Regions from separate parts of the Homo sapiens genome. Here all the other regions are linked to region 1. The links are contacts of gene promoters, found by promoter capture Hi-C in blood cells and fetal thymus (Javierre and others, 2016). All regions are on one chromosome and are shown on one strand. The core of a region is centred on a gene start or on the middle of the fragment in contact, and the rest is flanking DNA. Distances in the headings are between cores, read along the strand shown.

What was found. The method cuts DNA at HindIII sites, captures the fragments that hold promoters and counts their contacts. A CHiCAGO score of 5 or more calls a contact.
Region 2: the fragment with the promoter of SPATA21 here is called in contact with the fragment with the promoter of FAM131C in region 1 in 2 of 17 cell types (erythroblasts and endothelial precursors); the score reaches 5.5 in erythroblasts.
Region 3: a fragment that was not itself captured here is called in contact with the fragment with the promoter of FAM131C in region 1 in 1 of 17 cell types (endothelial precursors); the score reaches 7.1 in endothelial precursors.
Region 4: a fragment that was not itself captured here is called in contact with the fragment with the promoter of FAM131C in region 1 in 1 of 17 cell types (activated CD4 T cells); the score reaches 8.9 in activated CD4 T cells.
Region 5: a fragment that was not itself captured here is called in contact with the fragment with the promoter of FAM131C in region 1 in 1 of 17 cell types (activated CD4 T cells); the score reaches 7.9 in activated CD4 T cells.
Region 6: a fragment that was not itself captured here is called in contact with the fragment with the promoter of FAM131C in region 1 in 3 of 17 cell types (endothelial precursors, naive CD4 T cells and fetal thymus); the score reaches 6.3 in endothelial precursors.

Annotation. Positions count from the first base shown.
Region 1 is chr1:16,072,359-16,074,942 of GRCh38, forward strand. FAM131C (family with sequence similarity 131 member C) reads right to left here and starts at 1,293. Exons shown (of 7, transcript NM_182623.3): 1 at 1,063-1,293. The coding sequence starts at 1,084. RefSeq lists a silencer at 1,188-1,347 and an enhancer at 1,556-2,055. The HindIII fragment of the contact is 12,659 bases long and covers 1-2,584 here.
Region 2 is chr1:16,436,116-16,438,699 of GRCh38, forward strand. It overlaps SPATA21 (spermatogenesis associated 21), which reads right to left and starts at 1,309. Exons shown (of 13, transcript NM_198546.1): 1 at 1,013-1,309. RefSeq lists a silencer at 2,039-2,209. The HindIII fragment of the contact is 2,188 bases long and covers 973-2,584 here.
Region 3 is chr1:16,385,480-16,388,063 of GRCh38, forward strand. All of the region lies in intron 1 of SZRD1 (SUZ RNA binding domain containing 1), which reads left to right. Among named protein-coding and RNA genes, the nearest start is that of SZRD1, 20 kb to the left of the region's middle. RefSeq lists enhancers at 102-602, 603-1,103. The HindIII fragment of the contact is 1,519 bases long and covers 523-2,041 here.
Region 4 is chr1:15,782,776-15,785,359 of GRCh38, forward strand. It overlaps FBLIM1 (filamin binding LIM protein 1), which reads left to right. Exons shown (of 9, transcript NM_017556.4): 9 at 1,773-2,584. The coding sequence ends at 1,886. Among named protein-coding and RNA genes, the nearest start is that of UQCRHL, 24 kb to the right of the region's middle. The HindIII fragment of the contact is 6,840 bases long and covers 1-2,584 here.
Region 5 is chr1:15,799,879-15,802,462 of GRCh38, forward strand. No RefSeq gene overlaps it. Among named protein-coding and RNA genes, the nearest start is that of UQCRHL, 6.5 kb to the right of the region's middle. RefSeq lists an enhancer at 356-650. The HindIII fragment of the contact is 1,225 bases long and covers 687-1,911 here.
Region 6 is chr1:16,348,166-16,350,749 of GRCh38, forward strand. All of the region lies in intron 1 of FBXO42 (F-box protein 42), which reads right to left. Among named protein-coding and RNA genes, the nearest start is that of FBXO42, 3.0 kb to the right of the region's middle. The HindIII fragment of the contact is 2,783 bases long and covers 1-2,584 here.

The DNA.
Region 1 (2,584 bases), core at 43-2,542:
CTCCTTGCTCAATACCCCCAGGACAAGGTCCCCTCTATTCTGGGTAAGCTACTAGGGGTGATGGGTGTGGTGGTGGTCAGTGGGTTTGGCCTCAGCCTGCAGAGCCTGAACCAAGGCCAAAGCCACCCCCACTCCCAGTCACACCCCCCTGATCCCACTGTGGGGTGAACAGACCAAGGTGGGAGAAGGGCTCAGCCCAATCGCTTGTCTAAAATGTTGCCCAACAGCCTGTTGGAAAGCTGGTGGTGATGGGTGGGGGTGGAGGTAGGGGGCTCCAAAGACCAAACTGCCCATCCCCCAATCTCTGTGCAAGACTGTGTGTCCCCTCCTCACAGATAGAAGAGGCTGGGGCCTGCCCTGGGCCCCCAGGCAAGGGCAGGTCCCCTCCACCTCCTTGGGTACCACGTGGGGGAGAGTGGAGGGTGACAGGTCAGACACAGAGAGAAAGGCCCAGGGGTAACTGGGAACATCAGCTGTGCTCTGGCCCTTCTGTCCCCTGTCCAAGGATGGGGGTGGGGAGGAGGATTAGGGGGCAGGGGAACCTTCTTTATAACCTGTGCCCCACCATTAACCCTTTCCTGCCAACAGGGTTCAGGGGCTCTGCAGATGGGGGCACCCGGTAAGACGTGGGAAGGGGCTGTGGGGGTGAGCTGGTAAGACCTGTGTCTTGGGGAGGGGTGGGAAAGGGAGGGTCTGCTAGTTCTCCCGGTGCCCGCAGTTCCTCCGGGAAGCCAGGAAGAACCAGAGCTGGTTCCCAGGCACCCGGCAGGGGGTGTGTGGCTGTAGGGATGAGAGCGCGGCACGGCACGGGACCCTGCTTCGTGTCACCTGCGGGGCTGCAAACTGGGGCGGGGATGCGGTGACCTCTGCACGTGCGCTCTCTGCGCTGCCCCCGCCCCCTACCGTCCCTAGCTCTGTCCCCCTCAGGACGCCGCGTCCCCAGGGGTGCGGCGGGGCCGTGAAGGGCGGGTCGCCAGCCCCATCCCCCAGGTCTCCGAGCGGCGAGGGGACTGCGCGGGTCCCCGGCACCCGATCCCCCCGCCCCCGGCCGGGCCCCCTCACCTCGCGACACGCAGGAGCCCATCACGGGGCCGCGGGGCCGGGCCGCTGCGCCCGGGGTGCGTGGGGCCGCGGGGCGTTCATGTCTCCGCGGGCCCGGGGCTGAGCGCTGCGGAGCCAGAGGACGGGCGGGGCGGGGGGCTCGGGCGCCCTCAGCTCGGCCTCAGCTCCAGCCTGGGTCGTCCCTGCTGCCGCCGCGCCCGGCTCGCCTCGCGCCGCCGCCTCCCGCGCAGTGCCCGCCGCTGCCAGGGGAGGGCGACACCGCGGGGCGCGGCGGGCGGGGCCCGGGGGAGCGCAGCCGGGAGGCTCGGGCACACCTGTGGCCGCAGCGCGCGGGAGGGCCATCTCTGTCCCTTCGGGGCTCCCCCACCTCCTGGGGTTGCCCGGGCTGAAGGTCAGGGAAGGGGACAGAGGGGGCGGGGAGACTCCTGGCATTTGGGGCACAAAGTAAACAACATGAATTTAACCACACCAACGACGACTGGGCACGAAGGCTTGGGAGCGAGGAGGGGTGCGCGCAAGAACAACAGTTCCATTGGGCCTATTTTTAGAGGATGAAAGTGAGGCTCGCAGAAGTTAGAGGCCTTGCCTGAGAGCCCTAAGCTGTGAGTTCAGCGACTTTTGACTGTCAGCGCCTCATTCAGAGCTATTGAAATTAACATATGCAAAATAATATATGCCCAGAGGTGGGGTAGAGAGAGTGCGGGTAGATAGTGCGCTGGTGGCCTGGCGGCGGGATGAAGGGTCTCCAGCGATGGTTGAAGAGGGGGGCAAGGCTGCCTCTCAGGGCTTGTCTAGGGCAGAGTAAACTGAGGCACAGGTTTTTTTCCCCAGCCCTGGACGGCCTCTGTAGTCATTCACACTTACTCGCACGTACCTACACACACACTCTCCCATGTGTACATACCCCTCATTCACACACTGATGGTCATACACACACATATATATGCACACTTGCATTTACATACACGCACACACACTCACATACCTACACATGAATACACAGTCTCCCATGTGTACATACCCACTCACACCCACACAATGACAGTTATACACTCACATTGAAGCACGCTTGCATTTACACACACACACACACACACACATCCCAGCTCCTGAGGTGTGAAGATCCTTTAGCAAAATTTCCCATGCACACAGCACTCAATGTCAGTGTCTGAGACCCTCACTCACACATAGCATCTCGCTCTCTCCTTCATGCCCACCTGTGCATCAGGCAGGGCAGGCACTCTTGTGTCTGTTTTCCAGTTGAGGCAGCCAGGTTCACTGGTGGCAGCAGAGAAATGTTTTGAAGAATGAATAAGGAGGGGCCAGGCGCGGTGGCCCACGCCTGTAATCCCAGCACTTTGGGAGGCCAAGGCAGGCAGATCACTTGAGGTCAGGAGTTCGAGACCAGCCTGGCCAATATGGTGAAACTCCGTCTCTACCAAAAATATAAAAAATTAGCTGGGTGTGGGCTTGGCACAGTAGTTCATGCCTGTAATCACACCACTTTGGGAGGCCGAGGTGG
Region 2 (2,584 bases), core at 59-2,558, 360 kb after region 1:
GTGGTGCGTGCCTGTAATCCCAGCACTTTGGGAGGCCGAGGCGGGCAGATCACCTGAGGTTGGGAGTTTGAGACCAGCCTGACCAACATGGAGAAACCCCGTCTCTACTAAAAGTACAGAATTAGCCGGGCATGGTGGCACATGCCTGTAATCCCAGCTAGTCAGGAGGCTGAGGCAGGAGAATTGCTTGAACCTGGCAGGTGGAGGGTTGCAGTGAGCCGAGATCGCACCATTGCACTCCAGCCTAGATGACAGGGTGAGACTCTGTCTCAAAAAAAAAAAAAAAAAATACAGATAGGGTGCAGTGTATACTGCTCAGGTGATGGGTGGACCAAAATCTTACAAATCACCACTAAAGAACCTACTCATGCAGGGCAAGGTGGCTCACGCCTGTAATCCCAGAACTTTGGGATGCCAAGGGGGGCAGATCACTCGAGGTCAGGAGTTTGAGATCACCCTGGCTAACATGGTGAAATCCTGTTTCTACTAAAAATACAAAAATTAGCTGGGCATGGTGGTGCCTGCCTGTAATCCTAGGTACTTGGGAGGCTGAGGCAGGAGAATCGCTTGAACCTGGGAGATGGAGGTTGCAGTGAGCAGAGACTGCACCACTACACGCCAGCCTGGGCAACAGAGCAAGACTCCGTCTCAAAAAAAATTACTAATGTAAACAAAAAAAAAACACCAAAAAACAAAAACCTTAGTCATGTAGCCAAATACCACCTGTACCCCAATAACCTATGGAAAAACAAATAAATAAATAAATAAATAAAAAGTTTTGAAATCAGGAAGTGTGAGTCCTCCAACTTTGTTCTTTTTCAAAATTCTTTGGGTATTGAGTGCCCCTTTTATAAGTGGTTTCCTCATCTGAAAAATGGGAGAATTTCTCTTGGAAATATCTATGATGGCAGGAAAATACAGCAGATAAAGATAAGTGGCATATCATATATATGTCTGGAGGCCGTCAGGGAAAGCTTGTTCACCTTACACCCCACCTTGGCCCTGCACCTACCAGAAATCAGCTGGATGAGTCACAGTGAGATTTTCCACCCCTGCTCACCGCCTTGCACATAGGATGGGCTCTGTCTGAGCCTATACTTTGCCTGTTGGCTTGAATTGGATTTGTTTGGTATACAGGGCAGTTAAACTGGGAATAGATGGCAGGTCCAATTATTCTCAGCAGCAGAGGTTTAGGAATGCATTTCAGGAATATCCAGCCATGTGGTTAGGGTTTGAGAATAAGGCAAGGGGCTGTGTGACCTCCAACTACTGGACAGTGTCATTTCCCCCAGCTTGTCACTGGTTCAGTGGCCCCCATTACACAATGAAGATAACAATCGTTGCCTTGCCAACCTCACAGTGATTATTGGGCCAGGGTACTCTCTCCCAGAAAGCCTTCCCTGACTCTCCCCAGACTGTGTGGGGTTTCTTCTCTTTGCTCCCACAGGCCCCTGTGAATTTGCTTCATTACAGTACCTTTCATTCTGCTTTGCCAATGACTGCTTTTCTCTCTGTCTCCTCCAGTCTGCGAGCTCCAGGATGGTAGGAGCTGGATTGGCCACATCCCAGTGACCCCAGTACTCAGCACCTGGCATAGGGTATGTGCTCGATGCCTGTCTTTGTTAGACTGAACAGAACTGAAAGTGCTCTGAATGGCTGGGTGCGGTGGCTCACACCTGTAATCCCAGCACTTTGGGAGGCCGAGGTGGGTGGATCACTTGAGGTCGAGTTATAGACCAGCCTGGCCAACATGGTGAAACCCCGTCTCTACTAAAAATACAAAAATTAGCCAGGCATGGTGGCGCATGCCTGTAATCCCAGCTACTTAGGAGGCTGAGGCACGAGAATCACTTGAACCTGGGAGGCAGAAGTTGCAGTGAGCTGAGATCATGCCACTGTCTTCCAGCCTGGGTGGTAGAGTGAGACTTAGTCTCAAAAAAAAAAAAATTGGAAAATAAGGCCAGGTATGGTGGCTCATGCCTATAATCCTAGCACTTTGGAAGGCTGAGGCAGGAGGATCTCTTGAAGACAGGAATTCAAGACCAGCCTGGGCAACATAGCAAGACCCCCGTCTCTACAAAAAGTAAGAAAAATAGCAGGGTAGGGTGGTGTGTGCCTGTAGGCCCAGCTACTCAAAAGGTTGAGGCAGGAGGATCCCTTGAGCCCGGGAATTTGAGGCTGCAGTGAGTGATGATCGCACCATTGCACTCCAGTGTGGGGTGACAGAGAGAGAAAGAAAGAGAGAGACCCTGTCTAAAAAAAAAAAAAAAAAGAAAAGAAAAAGAAAAGAAAAGAAAAGAAAAATAACCAATATTTGCAAAAATGTGAAGAAATTGAAACCCTTGTGAACGTAAATGGTGCTGCTGCTGTGGAAGACAGTTTGGAGGCTCCTCAAAAAGGTGAGCAAGGCCGGACATGGTGGTTCACACCTGTAGTCCCAGCTACTTGGGAGGCTGAGTTGGGAGGATCACTTGAGCCTGGGAGGTTGAGGCTGCAGTGAGCCATGATCATGCCAGTGCTTTCCAGCCTGGGCAACAGAGTGAGATGCTGTTTCAAACAAAACAAAACAAAACAAAACCACTAA
Region 3 (2,584 bases), core at 32-2,531, 310 kb after region 1:
GCTTTACACTAAGACCCAGAATAGCCTATTTCTTCCTCTCCTCTGCCTTTCTCACCTTTCTTTTTTCCTTGTCATCGACCTCTTAACGTTACAGGAGTAAACCTACCACTGTAATCTGCTTCACCTTACAGACACATCCCTATCTTTTGTCACCTTTGTTCCTTTTGTAGCTTGTGACAGTAACAAACTGGGTTGTTTGAGGTGACCCCTTCCCTGCTCTCCTCCTTGGGAATGATCTTATCCGCATTGTACTCCTAGGTCCCATACCCTAACTTTTCAGCCAGAGGCACATTTATAGCAAGGTTAAGGGCATCAGCAGCCAGTGAAGCTGAGCTTCCTCCTCTGGTGAGTTAAAATTGCAAATGTTGACATCTGATCCCATTCACCTTGTGGTTGTGGCTCTCCTTTACCTCCCATAAAGGACCAGCCCTGTCGAGAACCACCTTCCTCCCCACTGTGCTTCTTCATGATTTCCTGCCTCCGCTCTTTCCTTCTGGCTTTGCTTGTTCTCTGAGACCGAGAAGCTTGTGTCCCATTTCTGTAGATGTGTAGCCTCATAGGACAAGTGATGTCAAGGTTTGGCAACAGTAGATCTTTTGCTTAGGATTTGGACCCGGAACACAGAATGTCACCTTCTGTGGGCTGCTTGGTGCTACTTGGCTGAAGAGCCTTTCCAGGAGCAGGAGCCATAGGAGATCACTTTCCTGGCCACCGCCCTGTGTGGTATGCTTGTGCCCTAGCACTTGCCTTGTGCCCACTCACAGCAGTCACAGCGATGGTTTTCTTTGACTAGCGATGGAGGTCAGGCCTCTAACACAGGAGCCTAGACCTTGGGCAGGACTCTGCATCCTTGTCTAAAGAGAGGGTTCCCTTAGGTAGTACGATTCCTTATTTCAGGCCTGCATCTAGATGCTTCCCCACACAAGTTCTGAGGCCTGTTTAATTCCATTGGGCTATTGCATCTCTGGGGGAGATGCACATTTTCCTTGTAATACACCCTGTAGGAAAGTTTTGACTTGGTCCAGCTTTTCAGAGCATGAGTCTGAGAGCAGATTGATTGCAAGGCCTTGTCTGAGAAGAGAATAGACTGACTCATGATACCTGGACAGACTCCAGAGGGAGATGCGATGCCCTCTCCAGCTGCTGGCAGAGCATTCCTTCTCCTGCTTGGGCGCCTCTGAGCATGCTGGCGTCCAGCTGGCCATCTAAAGATGACCAGGATCCACTTTCCACCAAAGCTGCTTGGGTTTCCATCCCATTCTGTAATCTTATGGAAGAATCCCTCTCCAGCTCTGATAAAGCTCTTCTGCCTTTCACAGTGGAGTTGGATGAGAGTTGTAGTTCTTGGCATGCCAGGGAGCAGTGTGGAATTGGGGGAGATGACCAATATCTAATGGTTTATACTGGCATTTCCAGGGGATTTGAGCAATTGTCGGGGGAGGGTGGTATGTCAGCATAGGGGCCTCAAAAGGCGAATTCTAGGGCTGTCTCTGTGGTTTACTACCTTGTGACCTTGGGTAAGTTCCCTAACCCTCATCTGACAGAAGGATAAAAGCTACTTTGTCTGCCAAACAGGGCTGGTGTGAGCAGAAAATGAATGTCTGGGGAAGAATGTTGACAGCCATAATACATTATATCGATATAAGGTATTATTTTAAAAGCTATTAGTATTATATTACATGCCAAGTATGTTAATCATGTTCTAGTTTGGGGACAGAGGCGCATTTACTCAGACATGGCCTACGATGTCCTCTTGAAGCGCTTTTCTTCCACCCAGGCTCCTTGTGCTGGAACTGGGCAGATGGTCCATCTTCCTTAAACCCTAGAGGAAGAAGGAAGCAGTTTGCTTTCCTCAGAGGAGACCTGGATGGGACTTCTCAAATTCACTCTAATGTGTGAGGCCCATTTCTCTCTCTGTCTTATTTGGCTCTCGCAGCGATATGAAAGTGAAAGTTCACATAGTGAAGTTGGAAAATTCAGTGCATTGCCATAAAAATACTGATTTGGTTTCTTCTGCGCTAGATCTGGCCCTGTCTGCCAAAGCTTGTTGGCCGTCATTAGGCAGGGCAAGTGCTCTTTGGTGCCCTGCAGCCCCTTCACTTCCCCAGGTATGCTCCGTGCGAGTGGAGTTTGGCTGCTTGCCTGGTCTATGAAGGCATTTGGTCTCAACCCTCAAAGGCTTCTAAATTCTACAGCTGTCAAGGCTCTGTTTATGATGGAGAAACTCGAATAGGCAGTCTTGTATTTAGAGTGGAGCGAAATGATACAGTATGAAACTTTAAAACAAGAAGTTACTTGTGAGAAGCCCTTAAAAGGTAATAGGCAATAGACTAATATGAGCTGTAGTACTTACTCAGGTAATAACACTGGTATTAATAGAATTAATACAATTCCATCAATACAGTCATTTTCAGGACAGAGTACGTAGTGGACATAGATTCTGTGTGAGTGTCTGTGTTTGTCAGTTCACAGAAAACATCCAGGTCGTTCTCTTATTATTGGTGTACCTTTTCCATTCAGTCATTCAGCATTCTTTGGCACCAACTGTGTTCCAAGCTGGAGCGAGAGGTTTCCATTTTAGTGC
Region 4 (2,584 bases), core at 24-2,523, 290 kb before region 1:
CACCTGTGACCCCAAAGTAGTCCCTATAGGGACTCTTTTTTTTTTTTTTTTGAGACGGAGTCTTGCCCTGTCTCCCAGGCTGGAGTGCAGTGGCGCGATCTCAGCAACCTCCTCCCGGGTTCAAACAATTCTGTCTCAGCCTCATGAGTAGCTGGGATTACAGGCACCCACCACCACGCCCGGCTAATTTTTATATTTTTAGTAGAGACGGGGTTTCACCATGTTGGCCAGGCTGGTCGCAAACTCCTGACCTCATGATCCGCCCGCCTCAGCCTCCCAAAGTGCTGGGCTTACAGGCGTGAGCCACTGCGCCTGGCCCCCTATAAGGACTCTTTTGTGGGATCAGTGCAGCTTCCAAAGGGTGCCCAGAACCAAGTCTCTGCGCGCAAATTGTCCCCCCTGTTATTCTCTAGCATGTGCCCAGGTGAGGTTTCTGGGGCAGAACAGTGACGTTGGTAGAATTTGGGCCCCGAGTCCCTGTGTTCCTCATTCTGAAATCCTTTGGTGATTTGAAAAATAGAAAATATTAATGTTTGTGCTGGTGTTGAAGCTGTGTGGGCTGTGGAGTCACAGAAAGGCCCCTGGAGCCAGATCCTGGAGACCCAGTCTGGTCCCAGCTCCAGAACCAGCTGTGTGACCTGGGGCAGAGCCCACTCCTCCCTGGACCTTGGTATCCCACCTGTGAAATGAAGGGACTGGACTAGATTCAGGCACTCATCAGCAGATACCCATGGCCTGTGCTGGGATGGGGACTTGGCCTTAAACAGGGTTCCTGTCTCGTAGAACTTACGTTCTTTTTTTTTTTTTTTTTTTTTTTTGAGATGGAGTCTCGCTCTGTCACCCGGGCTGGAGTGTAGTGGCACGATCTCGGCTCACTGCAAGCTCTGCCTCCCGGGTTCACGCCATTCTCCTGCCTCCTGCCTCAGCCTCCCACATAGCTGGGAGTACAGGCGCCCGCCACCACGCCCGGCTAGTTTTTTGTATTTTTAGTAGAGATGGGGTTTCACCGTGTTAGCCAGGATGGTCTCTATCTCCTGACCCTGTGATCCGCCCGCCTCAGCCTCCCAAAGTGCTGGGATTATAGGCGTGAACCACCGCGCCCGCCCAGAATTTATGTTCTAAAGGGGTTATTGAAGCCGGGCGCACTGGCTCACACCTGTAATCCCAGCATGGGAAGCCAAGGTGGGCGGATCACTTGAGGTCAGGAGATCGAGACCAGCCTGACCAACATGGCAAAACCCTGTCTACTAAAAATACAAAAATTAGCTGGGTGTGGTGGCACACGCCTGTAATCCCAGCTACCTGGGAGGCAGGAGAATCGCTTGAACCCGGGAAGCAGAGGTTGCAGTGAGCCAAGATCGTGCCACTGCACTCCAGCCTGGGCGACAGAGCAAGACTGTCTCAAAATAAATAAATGATAAAAACAAATTTTAAAAAATAATAAAGGAGCTATTAAGACTCTTCTAGCCCCAACTTTCCCTGAACCCTCAGGGGACTTCCCCAGGTGTCCTTAGTTCTCCTGACGGTGAATGTCTGTCCTCACCGGCGCCTCCACGTGGATTAAAGCCTCCATGTGTGTCTGTGTCTCATCTTCCCTTATGGAGACCTGGCCCGGGTGTTGGGAGGGCAGCAGTGAGCAGCCTCCTTCCTCCCACTTAGGAAGGGCATCCACTCATGCAGTTGGTTTATTCGGCAGATGCCAAGTGAGTCCCTCCCCTGTGCAGGCAGCGCCCAGGCCCAGGGCGGGTCAGCATGTGTCTTTGTCTCCCCAGGACTGCAGGATCCTCCTGTCTGTCGAGCCCACGGACCAAGGCTGCTACCCCCTGAACAACCATCTCTTCTGCAAGCCATGCCATGTGAAGCGGAGTGCTGCGGGGTGCTGCTGAGAGTGCCCGCTGGGCAGTGAACAGACCACTAGCCCCGGCTGGGGCCCTTCCCTGACTTGGTTTCCCTTCCTAACCTGCTCTTGCACACTTTCCTTCTGAGCCTCCATGGAGACCAGCCTGCAAGCCGGCCCAGCCTGTCCAGGATACAGTGGGGCTGAGCACCCCCAGGCCTTCCACTCCTCTACCCTCTGGGCACCAGAAGGCTCCTGGACCATGAGCTTCACCCCCAGAATTCCCTGCTGACCCTGCCCCACTTCCAGGGAAAAGCTGGGGGAGGTTGGACCCCTCTCACTGACTAGCTGTCTGGTAGGGGTGCTAGGACCAGCCTCGCCTGTGGGGTTGAGCTGTTTGAGGACAAACTCCAAGGTCCCTTAAAAAGTGCCTTTTAGAGGCTGGGCATGGTGGCTCACGCTTGTAATCCCAGCACTTTGGGAGGCCAAGGTGGGTGGATCACCTGAGGTCAGGAGTTCAAGACCAGCCTGGCCAACATGGTGAAACCCTGTCTCTACTAAAAATACAAAAATTAGCCAGGCATGGTAGCAGGTGCCTGTAATCCCAGCTACTGGGGAAAGCTGAGGCAGGAGAATTGCTTCAATCTGGAAGGCAGAGGTTGCAGTGAGATTGCACCATTGCATTCCAGCCTGGGCAACAAGAGGGAAACTCCGTCTCAAAAAAAAAAAAGTGCCTTTTAGGCCGGA
Region 5 (2,584 bases), core at 49-2,548, 270 kb before region 1:
CCAAGCCAGTAGAACCCCAAGCCGGTAGAACCCCAAGCCGGTAGGGCAGATGAACTTGCCATAGAGTCCAACTGCCCATAACCACAGAGGTGGTGGCCGGGCCCAGAGAGGGTGTGAGACCGGCCGAGCTCACACAGCTGGTTAGTGGCCAAGCCCTGGGTGTCCTGACTGCCAGAACAGGGCTTTCCCACCCCTCCCACCGCCTCTCTTATCTTCCAAGACCTACTTGTAAACACAGGCAGGCACCTGCAAACATCTGATCACCTCTGCGAGGAGGAGGATGAAGGTGGGGGAATGAAGGCGTGCAGGTGAATCAGGTCAGTGTTGCTCATAGGCTGACCCAGTGCGGATGGTCCCGTCAGTGGCAAGGAGGGCAGGATTCTGCACGGGTGAGAGCACTTGCCCTAGGGGGATGCAGTGAGTCACTGGGTGCAAAGTTCACACTCCTCCTTCCTCCTGGCTTTGATCTGAGTTCCCTGGAGGGAGGTGCAGCCTGGATTCCTGGAGGCGGGGCCATCTCCTCTCCCTGCCCTGCCCTGTGGGTCCAGATTGGGAGGCCGGCTGTCTCCACTCCTCTCTGAACTCCCACACACACCTTTTCGAGGCCCTAGTAAGTTTCCATGTTGGCCTCACTGGCGGGGTCAGACTTGACCTATCACCTAGGACATTCGCTGCAGGAAGTTGGAAGCTTCCCTCTCCTGCTGAGCTCAGCCATGCGTCTTACTGCCTGGTGCCACATTCCGTTCCCTCCTGTCTCTGGGAGGATGATCAGATCTGGCAGAGAGCCCAGGCCTGCCCAACCAGCGGAACAAAATAAATGACCGCAGGGTGGGACTCCGCGGACACCAAGACACCAGGGAACTCTTGGACTGAGCACCAGAGGAACTAACCCCAGTAGCTGCCCCCGAGCAAGGACCTACTACTGATGCTGCCAACAGCCCCGGGAGACAGAAATATTATCACCCTTATTTTATAGAGAGGAGAAAAGAGGGGTGCAAGGGTCATGGGGACAGTGACTGATCCTGACATCCACTAAGGGCCCTCTTGGGTTTTGTGTCATGAGTTGAAAGGGAAGCAGCTGGCAAGGTGGTGTGACATTGAGCTGCGCAAGTGCAGGTGAGATGCGGTGGAGGTGGAGCAGTGGGACTGACCAGTGTTGGGGTTTTGTCAGGACCGCAGGAGGGGGTGGGGGTGGGGCCTGACCATGAATTGTAGGCTGGGCAGGAAGGACACGGAGGGCAGGCAGGCTGAGGGACATGCAAAGGGGGCAGGATCCATGGACTGCTGGAGCCGGGGCACTGGAGGAAAGAAATGAGGTGAGGTCAGAGAGGTCAGTCAATAGATATTATAGAGGAGGGGCAGTCACTGGTCACGGGGGACAGATACTGGGGTGGCACTGCTCCTAGGGTGTAAACCCTTGGCACATAGCCTGCATAGAACAGGCCCTCAGAGAGTATTTGTGGAATGAATGAGTGGCTACTTGCAGTCTGGGGTTGGGTGACTCAAAGGATATTTTACTTTCTTCTCTCTAGCTTTTTTTTTTTTTTTTCTGAGATGGAGTCTCACTCTATTGCCCAGGCTGGAGTGCAGTGGGGCAATCTTGGCCCACTGCAACTTCTGCCTCCCAGGTTCAAGCGATTCTCCTGCCTCAGCCTCCTGAGTAGCTGTGATTACAGGCACCCACCACTATTCCCACTAATTTTTGTATTTTTAGTAAATACGGGGCTTCATCATGTTGGCCAGGTTGGTCTCAAACTCCTGACCTCAGGTAATCTGCCCACCTCAGCCTCCCAAAGTGCTGGGATTACAGGTGTGAGCCACTATGCCCGGCGGCCTGCTTTTATTTATTTATTTTTTTTAATAACAGCTTTACTGAGATATGAATCACACATACAAAATTCACCCTTTTAAAGCTTTCTTTTTTTTGAGACAGGGTCTCGTTCTGTCACACAGGCTGGAGTGCAATGGTGCGATCATGGCTCACTGCAGCCTTGACCTTCTGGGCTCAAGCCATCCTCCAGCCTCAGCCTCTTGAGTAGGCTGGACCATAGGCGCACACCATCTTGCCTGGATAACTTTTGATTTTTCTTTTTTTTTCTGTAGAGATAGGGACTCACTGTGTTGCTCAGGCTGGTCTTGCACTCCTGGGCTCAAGTGATTCTCCCGCCTCAGCCTCCCAAAGTGCTGGGATTACAGGTGTGAGCCACTGTGCCCAACTCTGATTTTTTTACAGTAAGCACATGATAAGGGAGGAGACCACCCCTCATATTGTCTTATGCCCAATTTCTGAATCCAAAGAAAGAAGTAGTAAAAACTAAAAGGCAGAAATGGAATCCACAGGCAGATAGCCCAGCACTGCACCCTGGGCCTGGAGTTAAAAATCAACCCCGACCTAACTCTTCTGTTATCTATAGATTTCAGACATTGTATGGAAAAGCGTCGTGAAAATCCCTGTCCTCTTCCTTTCCGTTCTGATTACCAGTGCATGCAGCCCCCAGTCACGTACCCTCTGCTTACTCAATCGATCACGACCCTCTCACGCGGACCGCCTTAGAGTTGTAAGCCCTTAAAAGGGACAGGAATT
Region 6 (2,584 bases), core at 34-2,533, 280 kb after region 1:
TCAGCCGCAACTTTAGATCACTCATTTTCAGTTAAGATACAGATGGTATATGTTCAATAATACAGTGCCACATAAAAATTTCACTCAATCCAAAAATTCGAAGTTTTTGCAATATAGGCAACAACACGCTAAATTAATTGTACAACAACTACAGCACTAAGGTAAATAACTTGTACTGGGATACAGAAGTTCAATATCAAAGCTACTAGCAACACCAATCCACATAGATTCTATAAAAGTTTAGTGTAATTCGTCGGGAGCGGTGGCTGAAGCCTGTAATCCCAGCACTTTGGGAGGCAAAGGTGGGCGGATCACATGGTCAGGAGTTCGAGACCAGCCTGGCCAATATGGTGAAATCCCACCTCTACTAAAAAAAAACTACAAAAATTAGCCGGGCGTGGGGCGGGTGCCTGTACTCCCAGCTACTCGGGAGGCTGAGGCAGGAGAATCGCTGGAACCCGGGAGGTAGAGGTTACAGTGAGCAGAGATTGCGCCACTGCACTCCAGCCTAGGCGATAGAGCAAGACTTGGTCTCAAAAAAATAAAAAAGAAAAAGAAAGTTTAGTGTAATTCTCACTTAAGCGGTCAGCTTCAATCAAAAAGGAATTAAGATCTTCTCATTTTATTTATTGTTGGGAAAAAGGAGACAGTACTAATAACCACCTATAATCAACATTGTAAGGAATAACAATTAAATATTTACTGTATTAATTGTCATCAAATTAAAAACACAGTGCCTCTTGTACTAGTTTACAAAACAAAAACAAAAAAGCATCATCACTCTAAAGTTGTCACCACTTAGTAATCTGAGATATTTTAATTGCAGCTGCAATGTTTGTGTTTGTTGCCTGTGTATATGACTCATATAGAAAGGTTTTCCCAAGACTGCTGGATTTTTGAGAATGCAGAAGCCATAACTGGGGCATACTGTGTGGGAACTGTCATGACAGTGAATGAATAAAAGGGGAAAAGAACCCATGACAGAATTTTTTTTCAAGTTTTTATAAAAAGCAAGTCACTCACTAAAGGCAGACTCTGCAGAATAATAGGAAAGGTTGGGGAAAAGCCATCCCTGCTCCAAGAAGCCTTCCTTGACTCTCTTGGTTGGATTCAGTGCACTTCTTAACACTACATAGCACTTAACGGGTTTCCTTGTCTGGCTCCCCAGCCATACTATATGCAACTTCAGACCAAAAGCTGTCTTAAATTAGTACCTACTTCCCAAAACACCCGCCATATGGAGGGCCCTCAGTAGGTGGTTCATAAATAGGAATAATCAATTTTACATTTACCTTTTATTTTACATTTTACAAAGCACTTTCACGAACACTATCTTTTCTGATCCACATTAACAATCGTGGGAAGGGCTTTATTTAATCAAATGGCTTCTGGTTTTATAAAGAGTTAATTCAGGGCCGGGCGCAGTGGCTCAAGCCTGTAATCCCAGCACTTTGGGAGGCCAAGGCAGGTGGATCGCCTGCGGTCAGGAGTTCAAGACCAGCCTGGCCAACATAGTGAAACCTTGTCTCTACTAAAAATACAAAAAATTAGCTGGGCATGATGGCAGGCACCTGCAATCCCAGTTACTCAGGAAGCTGAGGCAGGAGAATCGCCTGAACCGGAGAGGTGGAGGTTGCAGTGAGCCGAGATCATTGCACTCCAGCCTGGGAAACAAGAGCAAAACTATGTCTCAAAAAACAAACAAAAAGAGTTAATTCATTGACTAAAACAATTCTGAAATCACAAAGATAATTACGTATTTGTTCATCTTTGAGATAGCTTCTCCCTGGGACCTCAGTGTTCTCATAAAACTCAGACGTTTTGTTAGCATTTTCTTTGCTTGCTCTCCATAATAGGTAGGACTCACCCTGCTCTGAATCTTACTCAGGGTTTAAACCACATAAAGCTGTTATTAAAGACCCCTCTAGAAATCAGACAAGAAGAAGCATCCTAAGCTATTTTTTTTCTGATCCTGTTCTTTTTGTAACTAAGGTAAGGAATTGCAAAGGTCAAAATCTGGAGAGCAAATGATGTCATGGATGTCATGAAGTTGCATCAATACCTGATGATGATTTAGCATAACAGTGCAACATATTATGCCAAGAAGCATAATGATGAGCCACCAGGATGTTTTACTGCATTAATTTCATGACTCTTTATTAGCAAATTGATATGCAAAGTAGCTCTCCAATTTTCTACCACAGAGAAGCTGCTGGTTCAGATTTACATCTTTAGCAAAGACACTAAGAAAATCGACAAATTTCTATGGAAAAGTCTTTGATTTAAAAATAGAAAAGGAGGCTGGGCACGGTGGCTCAAGCCTGGGGTGGGGCAGGGTATCGCTTGAGACCAGGAGTTTGAGATCAGCCTGGGCAACATCGGTGAAACCCCGTCTCTACTAAAATTACAAAAAAAAAAAAAAAAAAAAAAAAATTAGCGGGCGTGGTGGCGCACACCTGTAATCCCAGCTACTCAGGAAGCTGAGGCAGGAGAATCGCTTAAACCCAGGGGATGGAGATTGCAGAGAGCCGAGACTGTGCTACTGCACTCCAGCCTGGATGACAGAGTGAGAAACTGCAAAAAA